Regions from separate parts of the Homo sapiens genome. Here all the other regions are linked to region 1. Evidence: promoter capture Hi-C in human tissues and cell types (Jung and others, 2019). All regions are on one chromosome and are shown on one strand. Each heading gives the region's core, a stretch centred on a gene start or on the middle of the fragment in contact. The rest is flanking DNA. Distances are from core to core; before and after follow the strand shown. Region 1 holds the start of ENOX1 (ecto-NOX disulfide-thiol exchanger 1). Region 2 holds the start of LINC00428 (long intergenic non-protein coding RNA 428). Region 3 overlaps EPSTI1 (epithelial stromal interaction 1). Region 4 overlaps EPSTI1 (epithelial stromal interaction 1). Region 5 overlaps DNAJC15 (DnaJ heat shock protein family (Hsp40) member C15). Region 6 overlaps LINC00400 (long intergenic non-protein coding RNA 400). Region 7 overlaps LINC00400 (long intergenic non-protein coding RNA 400).

The links. The method cuts DNA at HindIII sites, captures the fragments that hold promoters and counts their contacts. A contact is called where the count stands out against the background at its distance.
Region 2: a contact is called between a fragment that was not itself captured here and the fragment with the promoter of ENOX1 in region 1, in 2 of the 25 tissues and cell types used here (heart left ventricle and lymphoblastoid cells).
Region 3: a fragment that was not itself captured here is called in contact with the fragment with the promoter of ENOX1 in region 1 in 1 of the 25 tissues and cell types used here (lymphoblastoid cells).
Region 4: a fragment that was not itself captured here is called in contact with the fragment with the promoter of ENOX1 in region 1 in 3 of the 25 tissues and cell types used here (H1 embryonic stem cells, lymphoblastoid cells and mesenchymal stem cells).
Region 5: a contact is called between a fragment that was not itself captured here and the fragment with the promoter of ENOX1 in region 1, in 3 of the 25 tissues and cell types used here (IMR-90 fibroblasts, dorsolateral prefrontal cortex and lymphoblastoid cells).
Region 6: a fragment that was not itself captured here is called in contact with the fragment with the promoter of ENOX1 in region 1 in 4 of the 25 tissues and cell types used here (H1 embryonic stem cells, bladder, dorsolateral prefrontal cortex and 1 more).
Region 7: a contact is called between a fragment that was not itself captured here and the fragment with the promoter of ENOX1 in region 1, in 5 of the 25 tissues and cell types used here (bladder, dorsolateral prefrontal cortex, hippocampus and 2 more).

What each region holds. Positions count from the first base shown.
Region 1 is chr13:43,784,535-43,788,959 of GRCh38, reverse strand. It overlaps ENOX1 (ecto-NOX disulfide-thiol exchanger 1), which reads left to right and starts at 1,988. Exons shown (of 17, transcript NM_001347969.2): 1 at 1,988-2,308. The HindIII fragment of the contact is 9,406 bases long and covers 1-4,425 here.
Region 2 is chr13:42,871,257-42,875,681 of GRCh38, reverse strand. LINC00428 (long intergenic non-protein coding RNA 428) reads left to right here and starts at 2,938. Exons shown (of 5, transcript NR_126389.1): 1 at 2,938-3,124. RefSeq lists an enhancer at 2,243-3,031. The HindIII fragment of the contact is 4,549 bases long and covers 301-4,425 here.
Region 3 is chr13:42,888,118-42,892,542 of GRCh38, reverse strand. It overlaps EPSTI1 (epithelial stromal interaction 1), which reads left to right. Exons shown (of 11, transcript NM_033255.5): 11 at 4,041-4,425. The coding sequence ends at 4,049. Among named protein-coding and RNA genes, the nearest start is that of LINC00428, 18 kb to the right of the region's middle. The HindIII fragment of the contact is 3,443 bases long and covers 92-3,534 here.
Region 4 is chr13:42,920,513-42,924,937 of GRCh38, reverse strand. All of the region lies in intron 7 of EPSTI1 (epithelial stromal interaction 1), which reads left to right. Among named protein-coding and RNA genes, the nearest start is that of LINC00428, 50 kb to the right of the region's middle. The HindIII fragment of the contact is 3,812 bases long and covers 548-4,359 here.
Region 5 is chr13:43,041,503-43,045,927 of GRCh38, reverse strand. The region is part of intron 1 of DNAJC15 (DnaJ heat shock protein family (Hsp40) member C15); the gene reads right to left. Among named protein-coding and RNA genes, the nearest start is that of DNAJC15, 20 kb to the right of the region's middle. RefSeq lists enhancers at 121-180, 281-330, 4,023-4,425. The HindIII fragment of the contact is 4,545 bases long and covers 1-4,136 here.
Region 6 is chr13:43,134,870-43,139,294 of GRCh38, reverse strand. The region is part of intron 1 of LINC00400 (long intergenic non-protein coding RNA 400); the gene reads right to left. Among named protein-coding and RNA genes, the nearest start is that of LINC00400, 24 kb to the right of the region's middle. The HindIII fragment of the contact is 5,587 bases long and covers 1-4,425 here.
Region 7 is chr13:43,153,558-43,157,982 of GRCh38, reverse strand. All of the region lies in intron 1 of LINC00400 (long intergenic non-protein coding RNA 400), which reads right to left. Among named protein-coding and RNA genes, the nearest start is that of LINC00400, 43 kb to the right of the region's middle. RefSeq lists an enhancer at 3,748-4,271. The HindIII fragment of the contact is 3,377 bases long and covers 186-3,562 here.

The DNA of each region.
Region 1 (4,425 bases), core at 739-3,238:
GATGATTGTAGAAATACCGAGGTCGAAGGATGTGGACTTGGTGCTACACCAGACAGCAGAATTAGCAGTCTGGGGTGACCCTGCATGTATTGGTCAGTGTCCATGAACACTACTCTTTACAGGAGAAAAATGCGTACCTGATAAGCTATTAGAAATGTGTATTTCTGGCCTGGAGCGGTGGCTCATGCCTGTAATCCCAGCACTTTGGGAGGCCGAGGCAGGCGGATCACTTGAGGTCAGGAGTTGGAGACCAGTCTGGAAAACATGGTGAAACTGTGTCTCTACTAAAAACTAAAAACTAAAAAAAAAAAAAAAAAAAAAAAAAAAAAAAAATTAGCCGAGCGTGGTGGCCGGCGCCTGTAATCCTAGCTACTAGGAGGCTGAGGCAGGAGAATTCGCTTGAACCCGGGAGGCAGAGGTTGCAGTGAGCCGAGATCGCGCCACTGCACTCCAGCCTGGGTGACAGAGCGAGGTTCCGTCTCAAAAAACAAAAAACAAAAGTGTATTTCTCTTAAAACTGTTTTCCCCATCCTTCTGCTCTAGAAGGGACAGTATAAACTGCTGGTGAACACTGACTTTCACATTTTGAGAGGTTAGGTTCTGAGCTTTGGCCCCCTCACACCCAGGGCATCCCACTGGGGTCCCTGCAGAGTGCTTCTACATGCATCCTTTGTTAAGGGTGCACAATGGATAAGTATTATTTTCTTTCTTTGCATTGGGGTTCTGACCGCCAGGGGGAAAAATAGCCACACACAAGGAAATGGCATAAGTTAAAATCAGGCAAGCCTAGTGGGGTGGTAATGACTTTCCCAGCATCCAAGTCTTTGCCTTCAGGTTACGTGAAGCTAGAAAACAATGTCATTCATTCAACATTTACAGGGAACTCACAAAGTACAGAGTACTATGCTAAGCACTGGAAGGCATGCAAAAGTGTGCAAAACACAATCCCTGCATTGAGGATTCCTGCCAGAAAGGGTATTTCAAGTATTACCCAGACCTTACGACCCTTGAAGAAATGCTTGTGTGAATAAAATCCCACTCAGAATTTAAAATAAGCAAGGAAAAGTATACTACTAAGACAATATATCTGTTAAGAGGCAGAGAATGTAAATGTGCTTTAAACATTTATTTCTGAAGTATTACAATGTAGTTGGGATGGAGGATCGGGGGATGTGGGTGTGTGTGGGGAGGTGGTGGGAGCGGTTCTTGGACGAGCCTGACTCTAAGGAGGCACTGCTTAGATGCCTGCACAGCTAAGTTGAATCCTAACAAAGAGGAGGCCGGCATTCTTACCTGGGAAGTGGGTAACTTTGAGAAAAAGTAGCCTCCAAGGAGGAAAAAAAGGCAACATGTCACCTGGGGTTAGGATCCCCTCACCCTTACCAACCTGAATGCTGACCGCACCCCGGCCGAGCCACTCTGGGCCGCACACCCCGCATCATCTGCCCAGGCCACGCGGCCCAATTCCACCGTCTACCCCAAGCCCACAATCCTGTAACACGCCCGCTCCAGCCTGGAGTCGGCCACGTGCGCCCGGGTTCTTCTCTTGGCCCTTCAGCGGGCCCGGCCCCTCCAAGGTCGCCGTAGCAACCGTGCGGTCCCTCTCTCGGTTCCCCCGCTCCCAGTAGAGCAGTCCCGACCGCGGCGGCGGTGGCGGGAGCGAGCGGCCTCGGCCCCTCCCGAGAGGGGGCAGCGCGACCGTGGGCTGCGGGCGCCGCCTCTGCTGCATCGGTGGCTGCGCGCTCCGCTCGGCTCTGCCGGGCTGGGATCCGGAGCCCTAGCGCGCCTCGCTGACTTCCCCTCCTCCTCTGCTGCCGCCCCGTGGGCAGCTTCTCCAAGCGAGACACGCGTTCGATCCTCCTTCCCCGCGTTTACGGATTTCCGGGGTCGTAGAATTTTGCCTCGGTCCCTACGAGCATCTCTCGGCCTCTCTCCCCCTCCCCTCGCGACTCCCCCACCCCGTGGGCGCGCGCGCACCCATACACTCACACTCGCAGGCGCGCGTGCGCACGCCCGCGCGCCTCCAGCCGCGGAGTCTCCAGCGCCCCTCAGCAGATCCCCGCTCTCCCGGGCGCCGCTACTCACACAGGCTTCCAGCCGCCACGGGGCGTCCTCTGTCTGCTGCAGCGGCGGCGGCAGCAGAGGGAACGGCGACTGCAGCCCGGCCGCGTCTCCCAGCTCCGTGCCCGGGACAGAGTCCGGGAGAAGCAAAGGAGGAGGAGGACGCCGAGGCTAGGAGGAGCCGCGCCGCGCCCGGCGCCCCACTCCGCGCAGCGGGTTGCCTCCGCTCCCCATACGGCGGCCCCAGGTAAGCAGCTCCGGGGCCCGCAGCCTCCCTGGGGCGTCCGGGCTCCGAGCCGGGGTCCTCTGGTCTCACCCCCGCCACGGCACCTGGATCTAGACTGAGAGGGGAGTGGGCGAGGGGGGAGGGGAGTGGAGCTAGAGGTGAGGCTGGTGAGGAGGGGTGCGTGGACGCGTGGGGGCTTCGGTGCAGCCCCCACGCCCTTCCCCGCCGTGCCCCGTCTCAAGCTCCCTCACTTTTACGCGCCCGGGGGTGCCCAGCGCCCCAGACAGCTGTTCCCCGCTCTCCCCTCCGCCCGCCAGCCAGTGTCAGCTCCGGGCTCCGCGCCCGCCGCGCGCCAGTCACCTCCCCTGCACCTTGGACAGCGCACCCCGCACCCGTCTCCCCCTGCGGGCGTCGCCCCCGGGACCCGTTCCTGCCCACACAGTGTTCCCGCTGCCCTCTTCTTTCAGGTTTTCACCCTCCCGCTCTGCATCCCTTTTCCTCCAGCCTTGGCGGACTCCGCTCTGCTGCGGGCCGGAAACTTTCCTCCCCGCCTAGTCTGCGCTGGGTACTGTTGTTATTCGTGACTGTCCCCTCTCGCGGGGAGCTCGGACACCTTGGACAGGTCTTCGTCGGCGGGAGCGCGCCCTGCCTGGCCCAACGCGAGGTAAAGGAGGCACTGGGGCAGCCGGACTCGGCCGCTGCCAGGGTGCAGAGCCCGCGCCTCGGCCGCTGGACGCCGGCCGCCTCCCCGCCTCTCCGGACCCGACACGTGCGAGCCTCCCACGGACGCGGCCCCTCCCAGACCACCCCACGTCCTCCCCCTGCACGGCCACAGCCACCCCATAGGTTGGACACCCGGGGCTCGCGGGTCCTGATTGGCTGAAGGCGTAACCCCGCCCTCTTTCGGAAGGGGGGTGGTTCTGGAGTGTTGTGGTTGTCATCCCGCGGCGAGCACATGGGGAAAGTGGGGTCGACAGGTGGGCAAGCCCAGCTCTGTGGAATCTCTGCGTCTCACTGTATAGCCACTGAGCCACGCTTCTTCACCCAGATACACTCCTGCTTCTCTCCTTTTCTCTCCCTCAATCTTTCACTGCTGTAACATTACATGAAAAAAACTGGCTTTGTAATCCCAATTTTGTTAAGATTGCATTTGTTTGGTGGTAGCAATTTTTAAAAGCAGACCCAGGAGAATGCAGGAAATACGTGCGTATGGAAAGGTTCCTGGCCAACTGGGCTGCAGATTTGAGTCTGGTAGTTTGGAGAAAGCAATGAAGCGTGCTTAAGGGATCTGAAGAGGGTGGAGAAAGTGGGAAGGAAATTGATTCCTGGAGGAGAGACGCAGGTGAGCGAGCTTGGAAAGCTGAGCTGGTGGGCCCGCTCGAGAGGTGGGTGCGTGCTGTTGGAGACGGCTCTGTCAAGCAAAGTGGTAATATTGGCTGGTACTTAGTTTATGGTTAACACACTCTGCTTTTGTTTTACTAGCGTTGCCACTTTGATAGAGACTTTATATTAATAATGTCTATTCATGTAATGGATATTGCTCATTCCAGTTTCTTGTAATATACAGATTTGAAAGTGATAATGAGTTTGAAAAAGTGAAAGCCCTCTTGGAGGAGATGCGTTAAACAGTTAAAGTGCTTTCGGAATATTGTGAGGGAAGACGGATGAGCATTGCATAAAATGCATATTGTTCTGGCATTATTTAGAGCCTTTGAAGAAATATATGTGTACGTATAAATGATACTGATTTCTCTTCATTTCAAAGCGTGATTGCCTCTAGCATTTTCCAGCTTTAATTCCTTCAGGCTGTTTTGATGTTGTGTCTGTACATCTAAGAATATTGTAATTCTTATCTTTAGAAGCCTTGTCAATGTGAAACAAACAGCAACTGATGCAAGTTAATGTTGACAACTTTATATTGAGTACACTGTGTGTTATTTTATTTGTAAGCTAGTGAAATATGCAAGAGTAACATAGCATGACTGTTGTTCCCCAGGGACCCATATCAAAACAAAGTGGGGAATCACATGAGGCTATTCCATGGAGAACAATTCAATTATTTTTAAGATGAATAAAATTTAAGATTCTTGGTTGTAAACAGCAACACTCTTTGAATTATCTTTGTACACATTGGTAGC
Region 2 (4,425 bases), core at 1,326-3,825, 910 kb after region 1:
GCTCCTCCCGTAACCTGTTGAATATATACATATATTTGGCCAACCTGTTCAACAAAACGTATGTCTCATCCTTCCCTCCCTCGAAGTACCCGCTGACAGAGGCTTCTCACAGAAGCTACACTTCTCAGCCTGTCAGAATGGCCACATTGTAGGCTGCGAGTCTTTATAGCAAACAAAGTCTCCTTTCTAAATTTGTGATTTTTAAGCTGATACCATAGAATTCATCTTTCAAATCAGGACACTTTTAAGAGTGAAATGAAGTGCTAAAAATCCTGGTATCTTTTTTCAAAAATTTACTAACTGACAAATACATTTTTATTTTTTGATGGATCTGCCAAATAATTATTTTGAAACACTATTTCAAAAATATTTTTTCTAGAAAGTAGAATAACATATATCTGTGTACACCAAAGAAAACTTTTAAAACTTCTTTACATATATAAAAAGTAGAAATTTTACAATAATATAATCAGAATAATTACCCCTTTAGTCATTTTTTGAAAACACATTTGTCTCAAATACCATGTCATTCTATTTTTCTAAAGAATGTTTTCTTTTCCTTATATGGTCTTGCTATGTTAAAATTTTAAATAAAATTGTCCCAATATTTTCTTCAAATTTGCATTTAATGACTAATAAATTTGAAATGAACCTTCTCTGTAGACCATATCAGGATTGAGAATATACTCTTTTTAACGTACTTAATTTGTTTAGTTTCTTCATGCTTTGGTGGGGATACACTTTGGTGTCTTCTTGTTTTTAAGACTTGTTACTAATAATTCCAATTGTCTAAACATGTGGAAAGCTAAAGTTTTTTGAAACTCTATTCATTGAAAGTGCTGATCAAAGATTTCTAACTGATTTGGACAAATTCAGCCCAGATTTAGAGAGCTAATTTTTAAAAAGAATTCAACAAAAAGATACTTAGATTGATATACAAATTATTTCTTCAATGCTCAAATATTTCTAAAATTCTCCTTATGGCAGACAGCAAAGAGAGAAAAACACATGATACTGCCTTGTATTTAAAATCATATTTTTGCAAAAACTATAGTTTAGATATTTTAAGTGTATACATATATATCATATTTATAAATTCTTCGTGACTGCTACTATTTTGATTGGTAGATTATCACTACTTGTTTGAGTACAAGTATGAATCATGTTGCACATCTAATTCCCAGTACATTTCTGCTCCATAATTCTTTAGAAAAAACATGCTTTTACAATGACACTGTGCTATGCCAAAATTTGTACTTAATTATGACACAAAGATAACTTTAGTTTGAACTTTTAAAAACAATTTATGATAGCACTGATTCATTTAACTGGATTTACAATGACATCTCACTCTAGTAATATCAGATGTTTTTACCGTCAGCAAAATAAAATTCCAAATGTTTTACTTTGATACCATGAATTGGATGAAAATAAAAGGAATCATTGTTGAAAATAACTGTTTTCCAATATGAAGCATCTGACTCCATTTCTATAAAAGTGGCATCATTTAATTGTTTGAAACTTTTTTTTCTGCCATTGGATCCAGCACCTTACCATCTATCGCTTTGTAGGGGAGGAGACCAGCTTTTCCTCTCTCCATCTTAGGTTCATGGCTGAGGCCCCTATAACAAAAGACAGATGAACCAGAGAAAAGCTTACATGTTTATTTAACATGCATTTTACATGAAATGGGAGCTTTCATAAGGAAATAAATACCTGAAGAAACAGTTAAACCTGTGTATTTTTTAAACCTGTGTATTTTTATGCTGGGTTTGATGAAGAGAGGAGAGTCATAGAGAAATATAATAGGGTGAAAAGTATGACATGATGATTATAAACTGGGGAAACTCAGCAAGGCCAGTTTGTTCAGTTTCCCTTCTGTGACCTTTTGTTTTCAGGGATAAGGATGTTCCTTTCTTCCTGGCATAGAGAGGGCACATCTTACATGAGAGTCTATGACCTCTTTCAGGGGAAGGTCAGAAAATCTTTCCTAGGTTTTATGAACTGCATCAGGGAAGGAGGCTGGGGGAAAGTCAGAGACACTTTCCCGCTTCTGCTGTTTTCCTCAAATTTCTTCCGTTTAAAATATTCAATACGCCAAGGAACCATATTTTGGAGCAGCATGCCCTGAACCCCATCAGCTTCACTTTTTGTATGTGTACAACAGACACAGAGTGCAGATTTAGAGAGGCAGTCATTTGATCCAAATGAAAAGCCATGCTTCACAGGATACTTTCCTTGTCTGCACGTGTCAAGTCCTCATGTTCATGCACAGTATGTATCTCAAATGTACTCTCGAATGAGAGTAGATACTAATAGTTTAGCAGATTCGTGTTTTCTATTTTTCATGTGGTGAGTGATGTCATATAGCCCCCATGGTAAGTGTTGATAAACATTTTGGGATTTATAGGTTTGTCATTAACATTCTCATGAACAAAGTATTTGATTTTCCATTACACATTTCCTTTCACTTTTTGAGCCCATTAATGCCAAAACATTTTTTGCAAAGTTAAAACGTGTTACTGTCAGGCCTCTGAGCCCAAGCCAAGCCATCGCATCCCCCGTGACTTGCACGTATACGCCCAGATGGCCTGAAGTAACTGAAGAATCACAAAAGAAGTGAATATGCCTTGCCCCACCGTAACTGATGACATTCCACCACAAAAGAAGTGTAAATGGCTGGTCCTTGCCTTAACTGATGACATTACCTTGTGAAAGTCCTTTTCCTGGCTCATCCTGGCTCAAAAAGCACCCCCACTGAGCACCTTGCGACCCCCACTCCTACCCGCCAGAGAACAAACCCCCTTTGACTGTAATTTTCCTTTACCTACCCAAATCCTATAAAACGGCCCCACGCTTATTTCCCTTCGCTGACTCTCTTTTCGGACTCAGCCCACCTGCACCCAGGTGAAATAAACAGCTTTACTGCTCTCACACAAAGCCTGTTTGGTGGTCTCTTCACACGGACGCGCATGAAATTTGGTGCTGTGACTCGGATTGGGGGACCTCCCTTGGGAGATCAATCCCCTGTCCTCCTGTTCTTTGCTCCATGAGAAAGATCCACCTACGACCTCAGGTCCTCAGACCGACCAGCCCAAGAAACATCTCACCAATTTCAAATCCGGTAAGCGGCCTCTTTTTACTCTCTTCTCCAACCTCCCTCACTATCCCTCAACCTCTTTCTCCTTTCAATCGTGGCGCCACACTTCAATCTCTCCCTTCTCTTAATTTCAATTCCTTTCATTTTCTGGTAGAGACAAAAGAGACATGTTTTATCCGTGAACCCAAAACTCCGGCGCCGGTCACGGACTGGGAAGGCAGCCTTCCCTTGGTGTTTGATCATTGCAGGGACGCCTCTCTGAGTATACACTCACGTTTCAAGGGTGTCAGACCATGCAGGGACGCCTGCCTTGGTCCTTCACCCTTAGCGGCAAGTCCCGCTTTCCTGGGGCAGGGGCAAGTACCCCTCAACCCCTTCCCCTTCACCCTTAGCAGCAAGTGCTGCTTTCCTGGGGCAGGGGCAAGTACCCCTCAACCCCTTCTCCTTCACCCTTAGCGGCAAGTCCCGCTTTCCTAGGGGGCAAGAACCCCCCAATCGCTTATTTCCGCCGCACCCCAACCTCTTATCTCTGTGCCCCAATCACTTATTTCTGCACCCTGACCTCTTATCTCTGTGCCCCAATCCCTTATTTCCCTGCCCCAACCCCTTCTCTGCTTTCCTGGAGGGCAAGAACCCTCCGCCCCTTCTCCCTGTCTCTACTCTTTTCTCTGGGCTTGCCTCCTTCACTATGGGTAAGCTTCCACCTTCCATTCCTCCTTCTTCTCCCTTAGCCTGTGTTCTCAAAAACTTAAAACCTCTTCAACTCACATCTGACCTAAAACCTAAATGCCTTATTTTCTTCTGCAATGCTGCTTGACCCCAATACAAACTCGACAGTAGTTCCAAATAGCCAGAAAATGGCACTTTGAATTTTTCCATCCTGCAAAATTCAATAATTCTTGTCGTAAAATAGGCAAACAGTCTGAGGTGCCTGACGTCCAGGCATTCTTTTACACATCAGTCCCTTCCTAGTCTCTGTGACCAGTGCAACTCGTCCCAAATCTTCCTTCTTTCCCTCCCGCCTGTCCCCTCAGTACCAACCCCAAGTGTCGCTGAGTCTTTCTAATCTTCCTTTTCTGCAGACCCATCTGACCTCTCCCTTCCTCCCCAGGTTGTTCCTCGCCAGGCCGAGCTAGGTCCCAATTCTTCCTCAGCCTCTGCTCCTCCACCCTATAATCTTTTTATCGCCTCCCCTCCTCACACCTGGTCGGGCTTACAGTTTCGTTCCGTGACTAGCCCTCCCCCTCCTGCCCAGCAATTTACTCTTAAAAAGGTGGCTGGAGCTAAAGGCATAGTCAAGGTTAATGCTCCTTTTTCTTTATCCC
Region 3 (4,425 bases), core at 564-3,063, 900 kb after region 1:
GCTCTGTCTGCACATTTTCCTGTTTCCATAACGGTGCAATCCCTCTCTCACACCCACACAGCTAGCCATCAACAAATCCTCTTGACTCTTCCTTCCCAATACATCCAATCCAACAGCTTCTCACCACCCTTATCATCATTATCCTGCTTCCAGCCTCTCTCAGTGCTCATCCAGATGCTTGCAGTAGTCTCCTAGATGGTTTCCTTACTCCCACAATTACTTACCTACAGTCTGTTCTCGATACAAGACTGACAGAAGTCAGATTCTGACTCTGCATACCCCTCCAATGGCTTTCGCCACCCCCAAATCACTTGGAGTAAAAGCCGAAGTCCTTCCAGCAGCTTACCAGGTGCTGCATGATCCAGACTCCTTCTTAGCCCTCTGGCTCTCCTGCTGCTCTCCTTCTTCATTTCTCTCTAGCCACACCAGCTTTCTTGCTGAGAGCACTGGGTGCTCTGTCTACACTATTCTCCAAAATATCCATATGGTTTGTCCTCCTTCATTTACTTTCTTGAATTCCACGGTCTCAGTGAGATTACCTTGGCATCCTAGTTAAAGCTGCTGCCTGTCCTCTCACCCTGGCTCCTGCAGTCCCCTTTCTAGGCTCCCCTCCCTTTTTCTATAGCACTCTTCAACTTCTAACATACTTTTAAAACATAATTTCCTTGTATGTTTTGTTGACTGTTTACTCTTCGCCTCTCCCTGTGGTGATGTATGTTCCACATTCTACAAGGGTGGGGCCATTGGATTGTTGTGTTCAGTGGTGTATCCCAGGCATAAAACAATAACTGGAACTTACCACACACACAAGGAAACAAGTGGTTGTGATTCAACATCACAAACACAATAGAAAGACTTAGAGCCAGATGATTTCACATGCTAAAATGATTAGATACTGAATTTAAAATCACGATGTATAAAACGTTTGATGAAATAAAAATTGGATTTGAAATAATGAGGAAAAAATAGGAGATAATGAAAGACAACCAAGCAGACTTCAAAAAGAATTAAACCAAAATGCCATTTCTTATCAATTATTTGGCAAAAAAAACCCTCCTAAAATATTGACAATATACTCTGTTGGCAAGGCTGTGGGGAAGTGGGTACTTTACACATTATTGGTGGGCATGCAAAATGATACAAACACTATCAACATCTATGTCTTACTGTCTTCCCATTAAACGAAGACCAGGCCTATACATATTAGAGCCAAATTCTATTAAACTTTCAAGGAACAGATTATTTCAAATGTCTAGAAAGTTTTTCTGATTAAAAAGAAGGAAGTATTATCCAAAATGATTAAGCAGGTAAACATGACTTTGAATTAAAATTAGACAAAGACCGTATAGAAAAAAAATAGACTATCACTCATAAACATAGATTCAAAACAATCACAAGATTTTGACAGAATAAATATGAAAAAGCATAACATATCCTGATGAGATAGAATTTGTTCCAGAATTGCAAGCTTGGCTTATTGCAGACAAAACAAAAAACCTACTGAGATAATTCACCTCATAAATTATAAAAGAAACTCCATACGATCATCTCAATTAGTACAGAAAAAGCATTTGCTAAATTACAATACTCACTTGTGGTAAAATCTTCTAGGAAACTAGGAATAGAAGGGAAATTTCTTTGCCTCATAAAGGGATCAAAACTGTATAATAATAATAAAAATACATTAAAAACATTTCCGTTAAGATATAAGGATTGAAAAGGGGGAAAAAAAGCCTTTATAAATCACAGATGATACAATTATTTACGTAGAAAATCCAAAAGAATTTACATTCAAATTATTAGAAGAAAAAAAGGCTTGGCACTGTTAGTAGATATAAGATCAATATGTAAAAACTACATTTCTACACATTAGGAATAAATAAAAAATCTAATAAAAAGATCCAACCAAAAATATGAATGACCCTTTTTAAAAAATTCTAAAATTAGCCGGGAGCGGTAGCTCACGCCTGTAATCCCACCACATTGGGAGGCCGAGGTGGGCGGATCACGAGGTCAGGAGATCGAGACCATCCTGGCTAACAAGATGAAACCCCGTCTCTACTAAAAACACAAAAATATTAGCCGGGCGTGGTGGCGGGCTCCTGTAGTCCCAGCTACTTGGGAGGCTGAGGCGGGAGAATGGCGTGAACCTGGGAGGCGGAGCTTGCGGTGAGCAGGGATTGCGCCACCACAGTCCAGCCTGGGTGACAGAGCGAGACTCTTTCTCAAAAAAAAAAAAAAAAAAAGAAAAGAAAAAAAATTCTTAAATTTTGTAGAAAGATGCTGTGGAATAAATAAATGGAGAGTTATACCTTGTTAATAGATAGGAATGAGCTCTCAAATAAGCTATAGATTCACATAAATTGGAATCAAAGCAAAGAACTGAGAGTAACCAATTCACTCCTAAAGATAAAGAAGTATATATGGGGACTTAATTGTGTATTTAATGCGGTATGCAGTTGGCCCAGCACACCCAACATTTCTGAATTTTTTAGTTTTTTGTATGACAGACGGGGCAGAGCACATCACTGGGGGGAAACAGACTCTGGCAAATGCTGTGGGGACAATTGAGTACTTACATGAAATTAGGTCCCGACATAATTCATAAAAAAATTCTAACTGGATTAAAGCTTATAAGTAGGAAGGAAGACTTTTACATTTTAGAAAATAAAAGAGGCTGTTTATAAAATAGAGCTGAGAAAGGATTTTGTAAGACCCAAGGTATAAACAACAATAACAAAAAAGATAACTATATCTACATTAAATTTTAAAACATCTGTTCATAAAAGAATATCATACAAAAGTAAGAGGAGAGGCCATAAATTAAACTTTTATTTAGGACATGTTCTGCAAATAACAAGTGGACAAAATTAATATATAGAATTAGCAACTTAAATTATATCAATATATTTGAATTACTATTAAATTAAGGATATGTCACCATTTAAAGACTGATAGATGAGGACTGAGCTTCTCCAAAGAATGAAAGAGGAAAGCTATGCCTCAATTCACAGAGGCTTGGAGGAAATATCGGAACCAGTAAAAAGCCAGAGACAGAGTAAACAAGGAGGAAGGCAGAAATTATGATAAAACCAAGCCATGGAAAGAAGCAGTGGTTTCTTGAAATGTCATATAGACACTTAAGCAGTAGGCCCCCAATAAGTGTGTATGTTAGGTGGATTGATTTTTATTTTTTAATCATTGTTAATTTAAATCAGTCTTCTCATATTTCTTAACATATACATTTATTCTTCAATAATTGCTTTTATATGTAAAAAATATATTTTTTTATTTTTCTAGGGTTCTCTATTAGTTTTTTCGAGGCACCTAAGGTGGGTCACTTAAAAACATCCCTTTAAATAATATTTCCTCTGATACAATAGGTGAGGCTCTTTGGGATGCTGTGGAAACTCTAAATCCTATGTCTTCAGGGGCAGTTAAGCATTTCCTATGACCAATGAGGCAACCTGAGATTTTAATTTCTCAAAGTGTTAGAAGAAACAGCAATGGTGTGTATTCCATACGTAGCGTGGCCCAGCACTGCAGAAGGCTTGATGGAGGTTTCTTGACCCTTTGCACATGGTAGGAGTGGAGACTCACCAATCTATCTCCCTACATCAAGGTCCTCTTAGAAGTCACCTTTCTGCTGTATAATACAGCGTAACCCTACTTGAGACATTTCCATTTAAATTGCTCTGTTCCACATGTGTTCATCCTGTCCTTGCTGTAACTGTGTAGGTGGGTGACAACATTTTCGAACTGTATATTTGTCACCTCTGTTAGTCTATCTCTAAGAACACAGCCAATAAGACATCACTTGACAAGCCATTACCTTATTGACCAAGACTATTTTGTGAATCAAATGCAATGTGACTTGAAAATCAAATCGTTTCAATGGTCATTTAAGTTGTTAATTTTAAAAAATGGTCATTTCAGCTTGATGCATAAGAGCGTTCTTTGCAGGAACTTCATTTTTGACTACAAAGGCTTTGAATTTTATTTTGCTGCTTGCAGTAATTTTTGTTTTCTTTTTCTTCCAGGGTATATGAGAAAATATTGACTCCTATCTGGCCTTCATCAACTGACCTCGAAAAGCCTCATGAGATGCTTTTTCTTAATGTGATTTTGTTCAGCCTCACTGTTTTTACCTTAATTTCAACTGCCCACACACTTGACCGTGCAGTCAGGAGTGACTGGCTTCTCCTTGTCCTCATTTATGCATGTTTGGAGGAGCTGATTCCTGAACTCATATTTAATCTCTACTGCCAGGGAAATGCTACATTATTTTTCTAATTGGAAGTATAATTAGAGTGATGTTGGTAGGGTAGAAAAAGAGGGAGTCACTTGATGCTTTCAGGTTAATCAGAGCTATGGGTGCTACAGGCTTGTCTTTCTAAGTGACATATTCTTATCTAATTCTCAGAT
Region 4 (4,425 bases), core at 1,204-3,703, 860 kb after region 1:
TTGTTAAAGAACCCTCATCTTCATCTCCCCTTACCCCTTTCTCAATAGAGACCATGTTTTTAAATGTCAGGAAGATATTATGACACTCCTTAGGAAGAGGTCATTATACTCCTACTTAGAAATCTTTAGTTGTTTCCTAATTTTTTTCTTTCTGCTTCTAATGTGATGTTCTAAAGTCTAAATTCATCAGTGTGGGCCCTACAACTTATATTAAAGGAAATTCATCATCTCTCTTCCCTCACTGCTGGGCTCTGGGGGAAAGAGTTGAGAAGCTGTAGGCAGTGGAGTTAAATCATGTGTAGATGACAGCCCTAAACACCTGTCTGGATATCCTTGTGGCTGTCAGGGAGGGAGAGGGAGAACAGGAGTTGGATAGCTTTACCAGCTGGAGTTTCGCCTACCAGGCTGGTCTTCCTTTCCGTTCGAGGGCTCCCTGTATCCTGCAATGTGGAACACCTGGCAGAACTGCGTGTGCTGCTCTATTGATTTTGGCTCATTTCTTCAATTTAACAAGATCGTCCTGAATTTTAATATTGTCATCCAAAGCATTAGCAATGTTTCCCAGAGCTGCATTTTCTGTGGATTGATTAGTGCATTTGTCATAGGATCCTCAGAGCTATTAATAGAAAATATGGAGGGAGATTGGACCCAGGACGGTTCCTTATAAACTCCACGCAATAGCTGCTCCGATTTTGACCCCAAACTATTAATACGGTTTCAGTGTTCAATATATTTAATTGACTTTTTACCCATATTATACTCTTCTCATTCTGTCTCATCCATATGCATAGAATTCTTCTGAGAATGCTTTGCAGAATCATTTCTAATGGTGTAGGAAAATCAAATATGTACATTGCACTTCTGTGAAGAACATTTCTTTGTAAAAAGAGGACACCTGCAGTTTACTTTAGCTATGGTCAACTTATAGAATGTGAACACTATGTGATTGCCATCTATATGGGATGTGATGAGCTGGAAGAATTTATATATAATTTTTAATACTTTAATTTTACTACCTAATGTAACTTTCCTGAAAAGATTTTTCCTCTTGTACTTTTCTCCTTTAAAAGTGGATCTGCCATTGGCAGATGGGGATTTAATAAATACTAGAAAATTATGTCAATGTAAAAGATTACAAGAAAAATCCTTTAGTGGTTACAAGAAAATTCCTTTTGGCTTAGGACTTCAGACAAGAGATATTTACAGGGTTCACTTTTACATGTGGATTAATATAGTTCTCTGTATTGTGTGTGTAGGCAGAAGTACCAGCATCATCAGACCTTCCTCAGCGACCATCGCTGCATATTTCTAGTCAAATATGAAATGGTTTCTAGTCTCTGGTTTGCTGCCCCCATTTTTTATTTATTTATTTATTTTTAGACAGGGTCTCACTCTGTCACCCAGGCTGGAGTGCAGCAGCATGATCTTGGCTCACTGCAACCTCCACCTCCCAGGTTCAAGCCATCCTGCCACCTCAGCCTCCTAAGTGGCTGGGACCACAGGCACGCACCCCCACGCCCAGCTAACTTTTGTAGTTTTTGTAGAGACAGGGTTTTGCCACATTGCGCAGGGTGATCTCAAACTCCTGGGCTGAAATGATCCACCCACCTTGGCCTCCCAAAGTGCTGGGATTACAGGTGTGAGCCACCGCACCCGGCCTTATGCCCCTACTTCCTCAACGAAGAATAACGATGTGAAAAAATCTTATCCTGGTGTTTCACTTCCCCAAATCATTCAGTGGTCCCCCATATCTTCAAGGATAAAATCAAAATGTCTTAGCTTAGGCACAAAGTCCTTTCCTCTCTCTGTCCCTCCGTCTCTCCTTTAATTCTAGATTCTGTCTCTTTCTTTAGAATGGCCCCTTTCTAGTCCTCTGGGGTCTGGAGGACTGGCCTCGAGTCTAAATCTTTGCTTCTGCAAAGGGGTGAGGGGAAGCAAAGCTTTTGCAAGCAAGGTAAGGGGAAGCAAAGCTTTTGAAATCAGGAGCAAAGATTTAGATGCAGATCAATCTCAGGCCCCACTGCAGACCTCCTGAATCAGAGCTTGTATTTAATACAGTCCATGGAAGATGTGTGTGCACGTTAATGTCTGAGGGGCCAAGCTCTATAGCTCATGCCTCTCCAGCTCTCCTCTCTCACACTACTGTGAGCACTCAGTGCAGGTTGATTATTGTAATTTTTATCTACGTGTCACATGCTCATTCATTAAGAAGTCAAATAAAGTACTTAACATGTGTCCCTTTGCGCCGCTTGAATCCCACTTCCACCGCAACATTTGAACACTTCCCTTTGCTGCTGTAACAAATTACCACGAATGTAGTGACCTAATAGAACAAAAATTTATTCTCTTAACACTTCTGGAGGTCAGCAATAAAAATGGGTTTTAAAATGCTAAAATGAGGGTATCAACAGGAATGGTTCCTTTTGAAGCTTCCGGGGGGCATCTGTCCCCTGTCCCCGCAAACCCTTGGCACACGGCTGCATGGCTCCAGTTTAGCTTCCATCTCACCCAACCTTCTGCACCCTCCCTGACCTTTCTGCCTTCCTCTTATAATGACCCTTTTGATTACAATGGGCCCACCTGGACTATCCAGGCTAATCTCTCCACTTCCAGATCCTTAATTTCTGCAAAGTCCCTTTTGTCACATAAAGAAACATTCACAGATTCCAGGGATTGGGACGTCTTTGGGGGGCCATTATGCAACCCACCACCTGTTTCTTTTCTTAGTTAGCTCCGAATATCTGTTAATATGTGTTGGTATCTCTTGACTAATCAATTTTAGACCTTATTAACTCATTTCTTCCTCTCATTCTTATAATTATTCAGTAATTTGAGCTTTCCCTATTATGACTATATACACGTTTTCTCACTGCCAAGCCAGTCGGTATACTCTGGTTATATCTTCTGTACAACTCTTTAAACATTTTATTTTAGCGTTTTCTTAGTTTCCTTTGAACATTTGACTGTCTTCTGACAGCTTTTGTGACTGTTCTACAAAATGCCTCTTGACGCAAATTTCTAAACAATTTTCCAACTTATGCCTGTCAGATAACTTGTGGATTTTTTTTTTTCTCTCCCTCCTGGATCCCTCTTTCCTCCTGCTTTAACCTGTCCTGGGTGTTTGTAAGCCTGGCGCACAGCTGTTGTTCTGGGACTTTCCTTTAACACAGTAGTTCTCAGCCTCCTCTGCACACTGGATTCACCTAGGGAGCTTTAAAAATCACAGATACCTGGGTTGCACCTCCAGAGAGCCTGCTGTATTGTGACCTGGGCTTCAGGGTTTAAAAAAGCTCCCCGGGCCATTCTAATGTGCAGCCAAGGTTGAGAATCCCTGTTTTAAAGTCATCTTGGGAATTGCTTTTATTGCCTTCCCATGTTGGGTTCTCTGATTTCTGGGCCTCATTTCTTCTATTTTCTTGCTTTATTTCTTTGTTTTGGTGGAGCATATTACTTAGTGGCTTCCCAAGAGAAGACACATGGAAGGTAAACATGTTCAGGTCCTTCCATGTCTGAAACTATCTTTATTCAGCTCTCATACTTTGCTTGCATTTTTATTGATGACTATTCCAAACTGGAAATAATTTTCCTCCAGAATTTTGAGGCATTGCTCTTCTAACTTTGAATACTGGTTCCTGAGAAATCCAAGGCCATTTGAATTTCAGGCTTTATATGAAGGATTTTCTCTGTTTCCCCTGAAAATATTTTAATATCATCTTTTCTTTTTCTGGCATTCTGTAATGATGTGATTTAGTGTGAAAGTCTTTTTTTAATTCATTTTCGGTCTGGAAATTCATCTCTAGTTCTAGATGATTTTCTTGTGTTATCTCTGACTTATATCCTTTCATTTTCTCTTTATGGAATTTCTATTATTCAAATTGTAGACCTCCCGGATTTATCTTCTAACTTTAGAGATTTTCTCCTGTAAGTTATCTGTGACTACCTTTTTTCTATATTTTGGCATATTTTCTTGACTTTATCTTCTAAATATTTTACTGATTTGGTTTTTTTGGGGGGAAGAAGGGGAGATTTAAAAAAATGTCTCCAAACTCCTCCTTTTTTCTTTGTTACTTTAAAAATATATATATCACTTCTTACTTCTCAGAAGAAACAGTACAGGAAGCAGAAAAAAACTTCAAAGAGAGGGACTCAGAGGCTCACTGGTCAGTATGCAGGACTTTATAGAGTCATTTCATTCTCAGCCTGGCATTTGTCCACTGCTGCTGTCTTTACACATATGCCTGGTTTAGTTTATCCAGAAAATACACTTTTCATTTCCTGTTGGTGTTTGGTGAATTAGCACCTGCATTTTCAAAGCAGGAGCAGGTATATGGGGGTGAAGGGCTTCTACTGAGACTATCTAGTAATTCCTTCCTTTTTACCTGCCTATTATCCATCTGTCTTCCTCAATAGCTGGTGCATCCATTT
Region 5 (4,425 bases), core at 615-3,114, 740 kb after region 1:
CTCATGAAGGTACATTTTAGCAAGAGAGACAGACAACAAACAATTTTAACAGGAAAAATATATAATTATTTTACGCAGTGATTTGTGCTATGGAAAAAAATTAAGCAGATAAAGAAGTAGGTATGTGTTTGTATGGTGAGAGTGAGGGAAGAGAGAGACCCTCTCACATTGTTTTATATTTTATACTCAGTACCTGTTTTAAGAAAAAAACAAGGAAGTGAAATCAAAGACAGGCAGCCTGGCCCCAGGCCCAAAACCACGCCCGAGCCTGCATGGCCTAAACCTAGTAGTTAAAAATCAACTCATGACTTAGAACCCGATGTTACCCATAGATTTCAGGCATTGTATGGAAGAACATTGTGAAACTCCCTGCTCTGTTCTGTTTCACTCTGACTACCAGTGCATGAAACCCCGTCACATATCCCCTAGATTGCTCAATCAATCACAACCCTTTCATATAAAATCTTTAGTGTTGTGTGCCCGTAAAAGGGACGGAAATTGTGCACTCGGGGAGCTTGGATTTTAAGACAGTAGCTTGCCGATGCTCCCAGCTGAATAAAGCCCTTCCTTCTACAACTCGATGTCTGAGAGGTTTTGCCTGCGGCTTGTCCTGCTACAAGAGCAACAAATTTAAAGTGAGTAGGGCAAGCTTCACTGAAAAAAATGACTTTTGGAAAAAAATTAAAGCAAGAAAAAGGATTCCTTAGATTTTGGACTAGCAATGGGAACAAGTGTAAAGTCCCTAAAGCACAGGTGTGCCCAGTGTGCCTAACGAATAGCCAGAAGGCCAGTGTGCATACAGCAGGAAGAGAAAGAGAAAAAAATAGGCAACAAGGTCGAACAGGTCACAAGGGGAGCAGATCATGCTGGGCCTTATATGGTCAACATAAAGACTAGCTTTTCTCCGAGTGATACAGTACATCATTGTTTTGAGCAGAGGCCTAAGATTATTTCAATTAAAATTCTAAGGATCATTCTACTTGTCATGTTGAGAATAGATTGTAGAGGATGAAAAGCAGAGGCATGGGGATGAGTTGTAAGTCTATTAAAATAATCCATGAAAGAGATAATGGTCACTTGGGCTACAGCGATTAATGATGGAAATGAGGAAAGTGGTGAGATACTAGATAGAGTTCGGAGGTAAGGCCAATAGGATTTGCTGAGACACTGGATATGGAGTCAAGGTTTTGAAATGAGAAAATATAATGGACAATGCTAGTTAAACGTAATTAAGAATCTAACATATGGTCATGCTTCAAAATACCCTGGACCAGGTAAATATATCCAAAAGTCTCTCGGAAGACAAAGAAAATAAAGTCTTTGCAACCAAAAGGAACTAAAAGGACCTTTTAGTTGTCTTGAGCAACTAAAAGGAAAAGAGAAGAGTCAAGGTTATTGTCTTGAACAACTAAAAGAATGACACTAACTGCCTTTTGCTGCAAGGACTGTGAGAGGTCTGTGGCAGAGAAAGGGTATGTCATGAACTCTCTTTTGGACTTACTTTCTAACAATATGCCGTGACGAGTATGATAAAGCCTAAGTGAAACAGTATGAGAATTCCTAACACCTAGAGGGTAAATGGAGAGGTCTCATCTACTAATGGAAAAGAAGAATGAGCCAGATGTTTGGAAAACATTCATTCTTTGTTATCTTGCAGTGAGTTAATTCTCAAGGGTTAATCACAAGCAAATCACTTTCTGCTGAACTCAGTGTTTTATGCTGTCTTACTATTAGGTTCAGTCTCCACAAAGAAAACTCTTTGAATTTAAACAACAGCAAGTGGAAAGGAGAAAAAAAGAGAGGAAACAAGAAAGACTGCTGGCAAATCAATATAATTTGGGTAAAAGAGGTATTATACATGCAGATTAGAATAAGGAGGGGAGGAGAATTTACATTCAAGAAAAAGTGTCAGACACAATAAAATGACAATAACGAGAATTTATAAAATTATCCTGCCCTAAAATCTTCAAGCCAATATAAATTTCAGACTTTCATATCTAAATTGAACCAATCTACATTAAGACACCCTACCTTTACCATTATTGTTCCATTGCCAAAAGCAAATACATTTGAACTTCTCCCAAAACACCAATTCCCACGAAACCCTTACATTAAGCAAAAAAGAAAGGCAAAGCTAACTACATTTCTATTTGCTCTGTTTTTAAGTTGCTTAATTTCTCTTAAACCACAGGCAAGCATTAGTATCTACAGCAAGACTAGTGAATAAATAAAAGGGCGAAACAACAAAATCAGAGGCCAAACATGTTAGGAAACAAAACTCTTAGGCTTACCCCAAATGAATGTTACTCCACTCTCCAGCATAATTAAAAACTCCTCAAAGTTAAATCTTCACTATAGATAATGATTTTTTAAGAATAATCTTTTTCACACTGTCAGAAAAGGTCTAGAATAAGTAAATAAATAATAACAAGAATGATCTTTTAAGTACTGTTTTGCATTTACTCAAAATAACAGTGTGAGTCATGGCTCTACTTTCTCATAATATAAGAAGCTTTTGAGGTCAGGCATGGCAGCTCATGCCTGTAATCCCAGCACTTTGGGAGACCAAGGCGGGTAGATCAACTGAGAGTCAGGAGTTCGAGACCAGTCTGGCCAACATGGTGAAACCCCGTCTCTACTAAAAATACAAAAATTAGCTGGGAGTGGTGGCACACGCCTGTAGTCCCAGCTACTGGGGAGGCTGAGGGGGGAGACTCGCTTGAACCCGGGAGACGGAGGTTTGCAGTGAGCCAAGATCATACCACTGGACTCCGGCCTGAGTGACAGAGCCTTTCAAAAAAATAAAAATAAACAAATTTAAAAAGCAGCTTTTTTAAACCAAAATGTGAATAAATGTGACTGGTCAGAAAATCTTGCTCCTGTCATCAACCATGTCCTTCCTGACAGCCTGGAGAGCACTTGCAGCCCCTGAACTCATCACAGGCTTGCCAAACCAGGTTGCATATTTGGCTTTAAGTTCTTGAACCCAGGAACATGGTGACAGTTAATTTTATGTGTCAACCTGGCTACACTATGCTTACCCAGTTAGTCAAACACTGATTTTGGGGTTGCCATGAAAGTATTTTGGAGATGTGGCTAACACCTATGGAGTTTATCTTTGATAATCTATGTGGGCCAATCTATATGGACCAATCATTTGCAAGGATTTAAGAACAAAATTGAAGTTTCTCTGAAGAAGAAGAAATACTGCCTCAAGAATCTCATCCTATCTGAAAGCTCTCAGACTGTGGGCCTGCCCTACAAATTTTAGACTTGCCAGCTACACCACCACAGCTGGTCCCTACCTTATGTGGCACCATGACATTTTTTCTCAAGATAAGCTCTCCCTCTTTTGAATCTGCTGGCTTTCAGTTTGGGAGCTGGAGCACTTGAGTCATATCCCCCCATCCTAGTTGACTCTTAATGCACTCCTGCCCTTCTGTTTCACCACCCTTCATGTAAAGATGTTATGATTGATCCCTGTCCCTAACACAGGAGAGTGCCTGCTCTATATTGCTTCTCAGCTACTAAGAAGGAGGAAGAAACAAAACTATAGTAGTCCTCTCTTACAGTTTTGCTTTCCATGGTTATAATAATATATTTCCAGAGAAAGAGAGACCATACTCACATAAGTTTTATTACAACTATAGTTATTATTGTTCCATTGCATTGTTTGTTGTTAATGTCTTACTGTACCTAATTTATAAATTAAACTTTATCATAATTATGTATATATAGGAAAAAACATTGTGTATGAAGGGACCAGTACTATAGGAAAACAATACTGTATCTGTAGGGTTCAGTACTTTCCATGGTTTCAGGCATCCACTGGTGGTCTTGGAACACAGAACCCACAGATAAGAGGGGGCCTACTACACTATAGATAGGCAGCAGGATTAAGTAAACATCCAACCATTAAAGAAATCAATGTCAGTGTTATGGTCTTACCTATTTAAATATCACCACCTGACTACTTCCCAGCTTACTCCTCCATTGTGATCCCAGGCCACACTTCAAAACTTCCCTCCCTCACCATGCTATGAACCTCTAGAAGGCAAGAGGTAGGCTTCATTCACCTTTGTATTCCCGGTATATAGCATAGGCTAAATAAAAGTTAGCAGTTAATTGACTGCATGGATGTATGTATATGCATGGAGAGACAGTAAAACAGACAGCTGGCCAGCTGGCTGAGTACTCTACTTCTGAATCATAGATTGCTTCTTAGAAAAGTAGAACTAAAACTGAAGCATAGGGTCAAGGTTAGGCCAAGGAGGGAAATGTGAGGATACAGGGAGAGAACAAAGGTTAGATGTTGAATTCTGACTGAGATTCTGCCCTCACCTCACTGTTACTGCAATCTAGTCAATGTGTGTGTTGGGAGGCAGGGATCATCTACAAGACATGTTAAATATCTATAGTGTGGGG
Region 6 (4,425 bases), core at 601-3,100, 650 kb after region 1:
AAAAACAATAAAAGGAGGAACATGAGAGAGACAAACGTGGCTCTGGACGTGCCCTCAAGACAGTTGTTCAGCACAGTTCAGGCTTTCTTCTTGTGCAGAGCAAACACAGACCAAATTTAACTCTGTCAGCAAGAACAAGCTGAGATTTCTGTCATAGTCATCTTTGCCCCAGATAGGACCTATAAGAAAAACAGTCTATGTGAGAAGAATTAATGTGACAGGGGGATCACTGTTAGTCTGAAGGGCCTCAGACCTGCAGAAGAACATAAAGATAAAAAATGTTTAAATGCTATAATCCCCATTTAGAGACTTCCTCAGCGTTTGGGCTTCAGGTGGGCAGATCTGAAATCCATCAAGTCCTCTCAGCCAATGTCTGTCCCTGAGGATCAACCATCAGCTTCATAGCTCTTTCATCCCTGAAGGGGCAGAGTACATGTGGGATCACATGTTTACTCCTGGTAGCAGAATCATGGCAAAGTTTGCTTCTCTACTTCCTGGAAGGGGTTTTGTGAGAACCTGTGCTCCTCTCAAAAGTAGGTTGACTTTTCTAAGAAGCTTTTGTGAGAAGGTAGGATCAAAGCCACTCTGTCATCTTTTACCCTCTCTCATTGACAACCCTCTTTCTCTTGAGTCTCCAAGAGACACCCTATATCACTGTGATAAAAAAAAACATTGACCTTGAGATCCCAGGTGCAGGAATTTGGCTACCCATTGGGTTCATTTACCTCTATACCCTTCTACCAAATTATAGGAAGAACCATTGAGAAGACCAACTTGGATTTGTGCAAATATAGTCATCATGGCAACCATACTTGTTCAGTCATTCAACCATGGAAGAACTTTCTGTTAATATTGGTATGGACCAGCCAGATGAGTCCTCAATGAGGACAGGCCAATACAAAATTCGGTGTAAAAAACATAGGTAAGAACGCAGAAGACCGGCATCACAATGAAACATGGTGACAGGACAGCATCCTTGAAGCTCCCTAAACAAATGGGAAAAGAGATTTCAAAACAGTAATAACCACGAGCAGATATTTATAGAGCTTGTGTGCTAAACGATAGTCTAGTCCCTGCAGCTAGAGAGGAGCACACTTGGTAGAAAAACAATTTTGCCGCTGCCCTGGAGGACCTTGTGGATTAATGAGGACACAGAAAGGTGGATGTGTTTTTACAGCCCCACAGGGAGGTTCTACAACACACAGGTGGGAAGAAAGTCATCTGAGAGCAGAGGGAGGTACCCGGCTTTTTTCAGAGCAACCAGGGACAGTTTCTCAGAGGATGTTCATCACTCAGGAATCTAAAAGGACAAGCTAGGATGACAAGCCAGCAGTGTTTGCAATGTCTTGGGCTCATTGAGCAGACAGTAGTGTTAGATGTCAAACAGACCTGGGTTTCGACCATAGCAGACTCACTGCGGGACGCACGGCCCTGAGCAAATTACTTAGCCTGGGTGAGCCTCCATTTCTGAATCTGTAAAATGGGAATAGTAATAAATATCAATCTCAGAGAATCATTAGAAGCATAAAACACCACAAGACATACAAACTGCTCGCTCTCATGCCCAGTACATTTGAGGCTTTCGATAAAAAATGACTTTTTTTAGTTTTCATATTTTGTGCTTCAGTTATTAAAACTGAATGATGGACCACATTTAAGAGAGAGAGTCCCAAAAGAGAGAGGATTGTTGTGGTTTCTGCCTTCCACCCCCACAACTTTGCACTAAAAAAGAAAAAAGAAAAAAAGAATGTAATGCGGCAGCTCCCCAAGGCATTACATTAGTGAAAAAAAAGAACTTGCTGGTTTTCCCTTTGAGCCCGACAGGCTTTGAGAGAAATCTGAAGAGTCATCCCTATGAAAGTGAAGGCTGACAACACTACCCCATTTCAGCATGCCTGCTTGGTTTACAGACAGCTGCCTGTGCGATCAATACTGCAGGGCTCAAGGTAGCAGGCTGTGTTCCAGCCCACCCCACACATCAGGGCTGCTTATTGATTCCAGCTGCTGCTGGAAAAAGCCAGGGCTCCTATTCCTCGATTTTGAGAGGCAGAATTGGGGATCTGGGGCTGACTCTTGAGAAAACTGGGGGCCCAGATATTCTCACAGGTAACTCATAAACTTGGGTCATCAGAGAGCTGAGTCAGCACCCAAAGGCGGCCGAGAAATTGGCTCTCTGGTGGCGGAACTCTCCAGGCTAGTTAGTGTAACAGGAGGGAGCTCTGCCCTGGAGTTCACAGCACTGGTAAGTAGCATTTATTCAGCATCACATACTGATGGCCAGACTTAGCAAATAAAAATACAGCATGTCCAGTTAAATTTGAATTTCAAATGAGTGATGAATTTTTTTTAGCATAACTACATCCCAAATATTGCAAGATGTAATTATACTTAAAAATTGCACATTGTTTGGCTGGGTGCGGTGGCTCATGCCTGTAATCCCAGCACTTTGGGAGGCTGAGGTGGGCGGATCACTTGAAGTCAAGAGTTCAAGACCAGCCTGGCCAACATGGTGAAACCCCATCTCTACTAAAAATGCAAAAATTAGCTGGGTGTGGTGGCATGCACCTGTAGTCCCAGCTGCTCAGGAGGCTGAGGCAAGAGAATCGCTTGAACCCAGGAGGTGGAGGTTGCAGTGAGCCGAGATCGTGCCACTGCACTCCAGCCTGGGTGACAGAGAGAGACCTTGTCTCAAAAAAATAAAATAAAATAAATAAAATAAACTGTACATAGTTTATGTGAAATTTAAATTTACCTGGGCATCCTGTATTTATGTGCCAAATATTTCATAGGACATTCTTTTTTTTTTTTTTTTTTTTTGAGACTGAGTTTCACTCTTGTTGCCCAGGCTGGAGTGCGATGGCGCGATCTTGGCTCACTGCAACCTCCACCTTCTGGGTTCAAGCGATTCTCCTGCCTCAGCCTCCCTACCAGCTGGGACTATAGGCTCCCGCTACCATGCCCAGCTAATTCTTTGTATTTTTTAGTAGAGTTGGGGTTTTACCATGTTGGCCAGGCTGGTCTCGAACTCCCAACCTCAAGCGATCCACCCGCCTCAGCCTCCCAAAGTGCTGGGATTACAGGCATGAGCCACTGTGCCTGGCTTCATAGGACATTCTTTTTTCTTTTTTTTGAGTCGGAGTTTCGCTCTTGTCACCCAGGCTGGAGTGCAGTGGCGCAATCTAAGCTCACTGCAACCTCCACCTCCTAGGTTCAAGCAATTCTCCTGCCTCAGCCTCCCAAGTAGCTGGGATTACAGGCACCCGCCATTACGCCTGGCTAATTTTTGTCTTTTTAGTAGAGACGGGGTTTCACCACGTTGACCAGGCTGGTCTCAAACTCCTGACCTCAGGTGATCCACCCGCCTTGGCCTCCCAAAGTGCTGGGATTACAGGCGTGAACCACCGTGCCTGGCCCCATAGGACATTCTTATACTGAAAACTTATTTGTTGTTGATCTGAAATCCAAACTTAACAGAGTTTCCCTTGCATTTTATATCTGGCGAGGCTACCACACACATACTTATATGCATATGGGAACAGACATGGTTCTGTCTGCTACAGTCCTGCCATCCAAAGCAGAGAATCACCCTCAGCAAAAGTCCAAACTTTTCCAGCTGGCATTCCGGGACTTCCACAATCTGCCTCACTCTCTGCCAGCCCTTTTCCTACACAGCCACTCCATTCTAGCCTAGATGGTCCTCTTCCTGACTCCTGAACATTTCCAAAAATTCCTACCGCCCCTCACAAAGGAACAATGACTTGTCATGCTCTCCCTCCCATTTGAAGATTCACACTCACCTGTGCTTCAAGACCCACTCAAATCTTATCTGCTCCTCAAAGTGTTCTATAATTACCTTTTCCTCCATGCCCCCAAAGTAGCCCCCATGTGGCTCCTTCCTGCTTGGAACCCGGGGAGTGTTTGCTTTCTCCCTCATTCAGTTGCCCTGGGGTTGCCTTGCCAGTTAATTTTCATTTGTTTCTTTAGCAAGCATGAGCTGACATCTATAACTGTGGCTCAAGAAATAATACAAATCTTTATCTGTTCTGAGCCCCCACCTGCCTGGCTGGTGGGCAAACTAATCCCGGTCCTTGTGTGGGCCCCCATGGTGGGACCATATAAGCTTCATATGACTCCCAGGCCGGTAGTGTGTATGAGTGCGTGGGGATGGGGTGGGTGAGGGAGGGGTAGGAGCAGATGCTAACTCCACTCTGTCTTCAAGTCTGAAAACACAGCCTGGTACACACATGTTAACTACCAAATTACACGGTCAGTCTGGCAACACCTGCTTCAGCCGGAGTGCAGATGAATGAGTTAACACTAATCAGCTCCTGGGACCCGACTCAGAAGCAACATCTTTGAGGAAGCCTTTTCTAACTTTTTGAGAAAGAAGCCAAAGCTTTTGCAAGGGCCTGTAGACGCCACCTG
Region 7 (4,425 bases), core at 625-3,124, 630 kb after region 1:
AGGATTCTCCTGCCCAATCCTACTTCTACCCCATCTCTTGTGACAGGTGTGAGATTTACATCATAGTCTGAAGGTTCTCCCTTTCCAATCCAGCCTCCTTAACTTTTAGCTTTCATAAGTGTCACCACCTAAAAATAAATTGCTTACACTCCTAACTCCATCTCAGTGTTCTGCTTCCTAAAGAACCCAAACAGACACATTAGTTGCAGAAATTGACTTGAAGCAAAGATATCAGAAAGCCCACTAAGATTTTGAAGCAATTGCATGACCAGATAGACTCTAAGGCTGGTCAACAACAGGCTATGACCATTGAGCTCTGTTTAACTCCTAAGACAATATCAAGATCCCAAAACCTTGATCTAAAACGAAGTGAGCTGGAAAGGCTGTGCAATTTCTAAGGGGAGCGTCTTCTCTAATGTCTCAGGTGGGTCACAGAGGACATGAATGAGGAACATTTTCCCAAAGATCAGTATTATAGGCTGCCAGATGGGCTAACCAAGGAGTTTAATCCTCTCTCAACCTCATTATTCTAGATCAACAAAACTAGATATGTGGGGGGAAAAAAACCCACAGTGACGATTGTGTTTCCTATCATTCTTTTTTCCAATTGCAAGTTTTAATGAAAGGTAAATTAAACTTCAGCATCATTGCATTTGAAGCAGACACATTTTCTTTTAGTTATCAACTGCTACACCGTAGGAATCTACACCGAGATGTGATGGCATGGAGACTACAAATCACCCAGATGTGCAAGATTTGGTGCTAGCTACAGTAACTGGATGATCCTGTGGAGTTCTCTCTCAGACAATGGGCCACAGCATTCCACCCACAGTGGCTGTGGGAGAGGAAAGATATCTACAGATGGTGGGTGGCCTGTGGGATGGATTCTGGTAAGCACTTTGGCAGCCTATCCACAGACATCCCCAACTTGCTTTTAATTTGTCTTCCTTCCAAAGTAGAGGCTGAAAACCACAGATTTCTGCTTTCTCAAACTTTCTTTGCTGCTGAGACAGAGGAGAGGTCAGCTGGGGAAGCTTCTGGAAAGGTGTTTTTCTCTCTAATACTAGGAGAGAGGTACAAAGGGAGAGGTCTGTTCATCTCCCCTGCTTCCTTTCTGTAGTTACAGTCATCAGTCATGTGAGGATTTGATATCTGCAGCTGTGTTAGTTATCTTGTGACTGGGAAAAAGCAAGAAAATGGCAGAGACACAAATCCAGGCCCTGACACCTGGAACCACCCTCTTCAGACATCTTGCTGGGTAAACAATAAATGTTCCTAAAATTTCCGTCTTTGCTAGTTGGGTTTTGAGTCACTTGTAAGGGAATGTATGCTAATTGATCCAATTGCAGACTTCTCCAAAAGGAGTCTCCAGTTATTTTTGTTACCTATGTACATCTACCCTAAACTGTAAATTATATGTCTTCATATGGATCATGTAAAATATTAGAAAGTACATTAATATCATAACATTGTGAAATCTTATTTCTATGCAGTTTCATACTCACTAGTTAAGGAATATGTCATCTATTCACTGTCACATTGTCCAACCCCAAATCACTCATTCAGCTGGAAATGCTAATAAAATATCTAGTCCCATGAATTAGATTCCATACATTGGGCCAGGCCTAGAGATGCTTTTTCATCCTTGCAAGTGATAGAGGTAAACAAAGCATGGCACCGGGACTCAGACCCCTGGTATTGGGAGAGGACTTCCTGCTAAACCTAACTTTGCCACTGGATTCTTCCATCACTTGCCCCATGAGAGGGACAGAGCTCTAGATGTACAAAATGCTGTTATGCCTTCCTGCCAAGCAACTCCAGTGACTGGTGTGAGCCATCCAGGACAATGACTTTCTAATCTCTAATATTCTTTAGACATCATCCAGTCTACTGCCCTTACTACACAGATAACAAATTGAGGCCCAGAGCTATGGAGTGACTTGCTAAGCTCACTTCACTACTTAACAACAGAATGAGGTGGGAAATTAAACCCAGGTCTTTTACTCAGTGCTTACTCTTACTCAGGTGCTTTATCTATTTAACTTTTCTTTCCAAGTGGGAAAGACCTTGCACAATCTCTTCTTTTGTATCACAGTTTTCAAGAGATCTAATCCAGAGCAGTCATGATCATATCTAATAGATGTCCAATAAAGTTTTATTGAACAAATGAATGAATGGCTATAGTCTAAACATGGGAGAATTGCTTTGTGACTGCTGAAGTCAGACTTAGGAGCTGAAACGTGTTTAGAAGTTTTTCATCCCAAATTATCCCACTGAAATGAAGCATTCTGTTGCCACACTACAGGCATTTGACATCATAGGCACTTAACACTTGCTGAATTGAACTAAATGGAATTGACTCTCTGTGGGATCAAAAGTATCACAGACTTATACAGTACATATTTAAAAAGACTTCTTTGCTTTTCAATTATATTATTAATCAGAGCTGTTGAAAAATGAAGCTTTCTAAAAATATTGATGGGAAAACACAAAGATGCTTACATTTCTCAAAAATATGTAAGAAAAAATGATTTCAAAAATCATTTGCTCATGATTTCATTCATTAATTAATTGACCTTTATGGAACATCTCATGTCTGTCAGTGCAGATTATAGGCACAGTGGGAGACTCAAAGGTGAAACAGACACAGTATCTTCCTATTTCCAAAGTACTTCTATCTTGAAATGTAGATAAGATATGGATGTCTATATCTAATAAATAATTTGTTACAATAATTGGGTTATAAATACACATCTATATACATGTATACACCGTGCGCTCCCAGGAGAGGGCAGGTTCATGGACTTGGCCTTGGAAGCTGAGTGTCTCAAGCAGTGTGGATCCTCATTCATCCACCCTGAGGTTTTGGTGGTGCTTGCTATGGTCACATGTCAGCCTATCTTGACTTGGTAGCAGTTCTGTGAAAGCAAAGGTCTCTAACGTATCCTGGGGATCAGGGGCAAGTAGGTGGATGGGACATGGGGTGGGTTAGGAAAAGCTTCCTCAAGAAAGTGATAATTGACATGACAAGAGAAGGATGAGTAGGAGATAAGCAGGTGAAAGAAGAATGAAAAATATTCAACTTAGGGGAAGTAGCAGAAGGGAAAGAGGAGTCTGGGGCCAGGCAAGACTGGAGAGGCAGGCAGGGTTCTGAGCAGCCATGTTAATGATATTGGCATTTATCAGAAGAGAGGTAGAAAGCAGTTGAAGCATTTTAATTAAGAGGGCTTTTTGATATATATTTAAAAGTGCTTATTAGTGAGTCAAGGCTGAGAAGATATCTTTAACTACCTTGCAAGCTAATAATAGAGTCAGGATACTGGTGATAGACTTTGCAAACTGCTCTCAGAAGAATTCCTTCTTCAGATTTGATGGTCGTGAGAAATTCCACAGGTCCCCTTTGCTGTTCATCATCAGAGACACTTGAGGGGCACTGGCAGTGATCTGGTTGCTGATCTGGGCTGGATAAGAGTGTAGTGCTGTGTTTGTATCATGATAAATTTAATGTATGCTGGCTCACGGCATCAACGCTTTATCAAAAGAATAAATGGAAAGTTATTCCGGGCTGAGAGGGTAAAGAGATCAGTTTATGGGAAAGAGAGCCTCCTTATGCACACATTCTGTAAACTACAGATCAAAAGCCAGAAGAGGAATGCTGACTATGAATAATGAAATCACACATGCAAAGGTCTGGATGGATTCAGACATCCTGACAATTTCTTTTTCAAGGAAAAATCAAGGCTTTTGCCTGGCGCTGAATACTTTGAAGATAAGTGCTCTGAAGGCAGAGCAAGATAGCTATCACATTCAGTAGAGATAGGTGAACTTTCAAAATTGGGTTCATTTAAATAGCATGCCCTGGAGGTCCCCTCCAGACAAGGAGGGTCAGAGTGGCATTCATGACAGTTGAAGGACACTTTAATCTCCAATAACTTGGTTGTTCCACGATGTCCGGTGGTTAGGGACTGAGCTGACCTTACCCGAAGACTTTAAATTAAAAACTCAAGCCCATATCCTACGTAAGAAAATTCCAAATGTGGTTGAATTGTCAGAAAAACAACGCAACCAGAATCACGCCCCAGGCAAGTACATTTCTTAAGGCTTACTCATTCCCCAAGCCATTAAGCTTCAGCCGTGCGTTCTCCCCACATTCAGTTCTAATAGAACTGCTGGTTCCCAGGTAGAGTGTCCAACCATTCCAGTGTGCTTGGTACTGTTGGGTTTTAGCACCGAAAGTTCTGCATCCTGGACTGCCACTCTAGTCCTGGGTGAAATATATTAGTTAGTCACCCAACTGCCGTTACCAGTGTTTTCTGATGGTCACACACAGTTACCTGCTTGCATCCCCACCCGGCCTCTCAGCAGCTAGGAATGTGGTCTCTCTCTCTCTCTTTCTCTTTCCTTTGCTAACACTTCCCTACTAAC